Regions from separate parts of the Homo sapiens genome. Here region 1 is linked to region 2. The links are contacts of gene promoters, found by promoter capture Hi-C in blood cells and fetal thymus (Javierre and others, 2016). All regions are on one chromosome and are shown on one strand. The core of a region is centred on a gene start or on the middle of the fragment in contact, and the rest is flanking DNA. Distances in the headings are between cores, read along the strand shown.

Region 1 (2,700 bases), core at 58-2,557, 920 kb before region 2:
TCCTTAGCCAACACATTAATTGCAGCCTTGTGAGAAACTGAAGCAGAAGACCCAGTTGTCATACCGAGATACCTGACTCACAGAAACTATGAGATTAATAAATATGTGCTCTTTTAAGCCACTACATTTTGGAATAATTAGTTATGCAGTAAATACCATCAAATGTTAATCCTCGTTTTAAAGTTCCAAGGATGATTGGTTATCTCTGAGGAAAAAAATTCCCCCAGAAAAAGGAAACAAAAAACATTTTCAATTATAATTTAAGAAAAGTTTTCTGATTAAAAAAAATGTACAAACCAAAAGGGCACAGTATGTTCCAGAAAGAACTGATACAAGATATATCACAGTTAAGCTTCCAAACTCAAGGATACAGAAAGAATTCTTCTAGGATCCAACCAGAAAAATCACGTCACCTATGGTAGGATGATTGCAAGGTGGGGTGGGGATGAAAATCAGGCTGCTCTCAGACTTCCCAGAGCAACATTTAATGTCATAAAATACTGATGCAATGTGTATCTACAAAGTTCTGAGGTACAGAAAATACGACCTGACAATATTATATCCACTCTACATGTCACAAATCTATTAGGCAACAAGCAGTCATTCCCAACCATGAAAGATATCAAGGATTCTAGAACCCAAAGACTCTTATTAAATTAACTATTGGCAATAAAATCAAGCAACAGATCAAAAAAAAATTTTTAAAGACAAAATGTGATGAGCACTGGATTTATGGTTACAGACAAGAATATAAGTATTATAAATTATGACAATGTAAAATTACAACTTACAGAAACTGGGACCTGAAAGAGAAAAGGTGGGGGAAGTATAACTGTACTTTCATACAAGGGAATCACTCAATACTGTTCAAAATTAGAATATGGAGTTAAAACATAATCACTCAAACTTGTCAGTGGGTTTCATATGTTTTCTTGTAATGGAGGCAAGTAACCTTTTATCAAGAAACATTTACATAAACTTTAGCAAATCTTTTGTTTTATAAATTCCACTAAAAAAGTAGTGTATATAATATAATCCCTTTGTATTATCCTTTTGTTCCCAGAGAGATGTCTGTCTTTGTGAATGGTAGAATTTAGAGTAATTTTTGGAATGCATTTTATATTTTCTACATTACTTACATAAATTGAATATCCTTTTTATTAAAAGCATGATGTTGTTTTCCCCCACAACAATAAAATGCAAAAAGGAAGTAAATACTGAAAGCCTGAAGTAGAGTAGAGGTATTGAAAATGAAGTCTCACATATTGTTAGAAAGATTCCTGCATTGGTAGTAGTTAACCTCACAGGCTTCATCTAACGTTAAGTTTCTGAGATCACAGACTTTCTCCCTAAATAAAGATCTTTGCAGCATAAAAATCCCTGTTTTCTATTATATGACTTCTAAAATTCTTTGCCTGGCTTTCAAGGAGCACCAAAATACGACCCTAAATGGCAACTAAATTGTTTTATATAATTAAACTAACCTTCTCATTGTCCTACAAATATCTCATGTTATACTCGGCTTTTATATCTTACTACCTACTTGGAATATCTTTTAATAAATAATTTAGGTGTTTCCATTTCACAGACTATTCCTTCCCCAATACTTAGTAAGATAAACAAAACGAATTTTAAAAAGAAACTATCTAAATGATACCTAGCTAAAGTTTATTTGCTACACAAAATTCTTCCTGAAATCTTAGAATTTAACTAAAAAAATTCTTTCAGAATTTTTAGAGCACTCATCGAGACTTTTCTATATTGAAACATAACTCTAAATTAATACTGCTTTGCAGACTGTATTAGTCTTAATTCAAAAACTTAAAAAAAACCTCAAAGAACATAAAATTTTAAAAATATATTTAAAGAAACTCATCAAAAAAATAAAAAGAAAATAAAAGAATGATACAAATAGACCTGATTGGAAATATGTTTTTAAACCTCTGAGATGGTCTTCCCAACCAAATATTTCATATTATATATTTTTAAAAGATAAGATTATGTATTTGTATAAAATGCTACAGTTTACAAAGTGTTTTAATAATCACTTTTTCATTTACTTGCAAAAATATTCTTACAATCATAATTATCCACAAAAGGACTGTGAGTATACTTTAAAAAATTATAAAAATAAAAATTATAAAAAATATTAGTCAGTATGAAACAATTTATCAAACTTTATAAATTTATCACACAAATGTATTCATCATAATCCTCTTTAACAACACAAAGCTACATTTGCAATGAAGCAGCTAAAGCTTTCTTTTTTGTTTTTCCTCTCAACTATGATTTAAATGTTTATATTCCTTGTTTTAATATTCCAACACACAGTCAAAATGTGGCAGTTGCAGTTGTACATTTACCTTCAATAGTAACTATAAAACCTAAAATTATTTTCAGTTGGCTCCTTTAGTAAGACCCAAAATTTCCTAAAGAAACATTTAACACTTAATGTTACATTTACGGTAATGAGAAAGAGCAAGGATAAGTCAATGTAAAAATGAATAAGCTTTAATGATATTCTTAACAGGATTTTCAGATACTTCTACCACAAGATGGAGATAAAGTAGATGTATTTACACACGTCAAAATATATAATTTTATTAAATTATTTGATATCACTTGGCTCATAATCAGAAATATATGCTACTCTTTATGATAAAGGTAAACTCACTTCACATGTGATCATTTTTAATTTAG
Region 2 (2,762 bases), core at 151-2,650:
CCAGGCTGGTCTCGAACTCCTAACCTCAAGTGGTCCTCCTGCCTCGGCCTCCCAAAGTGCTAGGATTACAGGTGTGAGCCACCAAGCCAGGCCGACTGCTTAACATTTAGAATGTATGTACAGAATACTTTTTCTACTCAGCATCGGTCTTCCTGCCCCGTCACCTTGTTTTGTTTTATTGGTAACATTAATCCTGATTGTTTTAGATCTCTGAAGTTTAATTAGTTCTGCTATACTCACCAGAGTTTGGCTTTCATCTCGCCTTTCTGCATTTCCAAAATAGGACCGTCTTCATTTTAAAAAATGCTTTCAATTACCCAAGCTTAAGTATTGTTAATCCAATGGGCCTACTTACTATCCACACCAGAAAAACGTTAGGGTTCACTGTATTCATTTAAAATCCAGTTTGGGAAGATGTAACCACCAGACACACACACGAGCGTTTAGTGATACCAAGATGAGGTTGAACAGGGCCCAGTACTCGAAGAAATCGTCGAAGGAGCATCATCGTGGTTAAGACCAGACTCGAAGTAGGTTTTACCCTGACTCCATCACTAGCTCTGCCATACTGGACTACTTAGGAAACTTCTTGTGCCTCCATTTTATAACTAAGTGAAATAAGGAAAGAATTTGAAATCGTGCCCGGCACAAAATTAAGCACTTAATAGATTGGCATTTTTCATTTATTTAAAGTTACAGAATGTCAGGTATATTTTTAAAGCGTTATCTAATGCAGTTCAGAAATTTTAAAGAAGCTCCAGACTTTCACAAAAGGTGAAGTGACTTGCCCAAAGCCACAAAACGAACTGGCGATAGTTATACTATACAGGTTTCTTGAATCCCAGGTCACTCTTTTTGTGAAAAATACGGTGCTGTGGCACCTTATTCTCATTGCCTGTGGCTTGAGTAACTGAAGACGTTTTCATGCCATATGAAAGGTATTTAGCATGCTGCATTGATTCCTTATCAGATTAAATCTTTGCTTTTAAAGAGAATTGATTTTTAGCCCATAGCAATTCTTGAAAGTAAACACTCCAAGATGAAGCTGCCCTTTCCCATCAAAGGTTAGACACCCTAAATCCAGAAAAATCTTCAACGTGTAGGAGACCTGTTCACAGGTAGCTCTAGGTTCCGGTGAAGTGGCTGCAGCACAGCCTTCAGCATCACTTGCTGCCTCTTCTGCTTGCAAGCTTGGTGGTGGATCTAGCGCGTCTCTGGTTGCTACGGCGATTCCCCGGCAGGCGTCATCCGTCGCTATGGCGTTCTGCACTGCGCAGCATGGCTGCTCCCGATTGGCTGAGGCGCCCCAGGTGGCGGAGGAAGAATTGTCGGCATTGGCCTGGCCAGCGCTGGTTGGTGGCCTGGAGGAGGATTTGATTGGAAAACCAACGGTGCAGCTGGCCGCGGTGTCCCTGAGGTTGAGGGGACCGGGAATAGGCTGGGGGGAGGACGGGACGGGCTGAGACTGGACGGGACCCCCGGTCTGCAGCAGCAGGTGACAGCAGCAGGGACAATGATAAGGAGATTGGCCTGAAGGAGGGACCGTCCCTCCCGCGCGGTGAGTAGGCGGGAGCCGGTGCTCGGCTGTGCCGGCGAGCAGCTTGAGTCAGGGTCTCCGGGGAGACGTCCTCAGGTCCCTGTGGAGCGGCCCCGAAGCCTCGGGAGCCAGCTTCACTAGACAAGAGGCAGAGGTAGAGAATGCGGCTGTGGTGGGTAAGTGAGTCACTGCGTGAGGCAGTCTTTTCAAAGCAGGTGGGTTTGTGTTGGACGGATGGATGGTGGGAAAGCGCCATCAACGATGCTTCTTGGCGCTTCCATTTTGATAACGGAATTATTCTGGTTAAATGGAGCCTGAATGTGTCTCTTCCAATCTGCTCCGACGCCTCTGGAGGTTCATTCTTCATCTCTATGAGCGTCGCTTTTCTGCCTTCTCCTTACAGGATGCTGCTTTGACTTTGCCCCTCTGCTTTTCTGCCCTACTTCGGTGAGCCCTTCCACTTCCTCGCCTCAGGCACCATCTATCTGACGATGATTAGAAAGTCTCCAACTGGAACCTAGCCTGCTCTACTAACTGTCAGACCCCAAAATCCAGCTGCCAAGTTAACGCCACACATGTGCAACCCTGAACGCCATCTTCCCCATGTCTGCTGCTGCTCTTGGATTCCCTATTTTGGGCATCACTATCCATTCAGCTTTCAAAAACTACACTCTAGACGACATCCATGACACTTACTGCTGCTTCCTCTGCATCTCTATCAATTATCAAGACTATCCCTTCTTAATAGGTGTTGAATCAATTCCCACATTACCATCTCTATTTTTACTGTCTCAATTTCCACCATCGGTTGGTTAAATTCAACACCCATCTGGCTTCTCCGATTCTAGTCTGGCCCTATCTATCCAATCCACTTTTTTCCCCACCATTGTTGAACTGATATATATATATGTGTATATATATATATATGGAGTCCTTCTAAAAAAGACTCCTTTTTTAGAAGGAGTCTTGCTGTGCTGCCAGGCTGGAGTGCAGTGGAGCGATCTCAGCTCACTGCAGCCTCCGCCTTCCGGGTTCAACCAATTCTCATGCCTCAGCCTCCAGAGAGCTGGGATTACAGGCGCGAGCCACTACGCCTGGCTAATTTTTGTATTTTTAGTAGAGAAGGGGTTTCACCATGTTGGTCAGGCTGGTCTCGAACTCCTGATCTCAGGTGATCCACCCGCCTCAGCCTCCCAAAGTGCTGGAATTACAGGCGTGAGCCACC

The links. Contacts are between HindIII fragments. The CHiCAGO score rates a contact against its expected background, and 5 or more counts as called.
Region 1: a fragment that was not itself captured here is called in contact with the fragment with the promoter of NEK10 in region 2 in 16 of 17 cell types (naive CD4 T cells, naive B cells, monocytes and 13 more); the score reaches 13.3 in naive CD4 T cells.

The regions. Positions count from the first base shown.
Region 1 is chr3:28,288,240-28,290,939 of GRCh38, reverse strand. All of the region lies in intron 2 of CMC1 (C-X9-C motif containing 1), which reads right to left. Among named protein-coding and RNA genes, the nearest start is that of CMC1, 48 kb to the right of the region's middle. The HindIII fragment of the contact is 1,906 bases long and covers 355-2,260 here.
Region 2 is chr3:27,368,021-27,370,782 of GRCh38, reverse strand. NEK10 (NIMA related kinase 10) reads left to right here and starts at 1,400. Exons shown (of 36, transcript NM_001394966.1): 1 at 1,400-1,558. RefSeq lists an enhancer at 1,642-2,142. The HindIII fragment of the contact is 2,054 bases long and covers 1,193-2,762 here.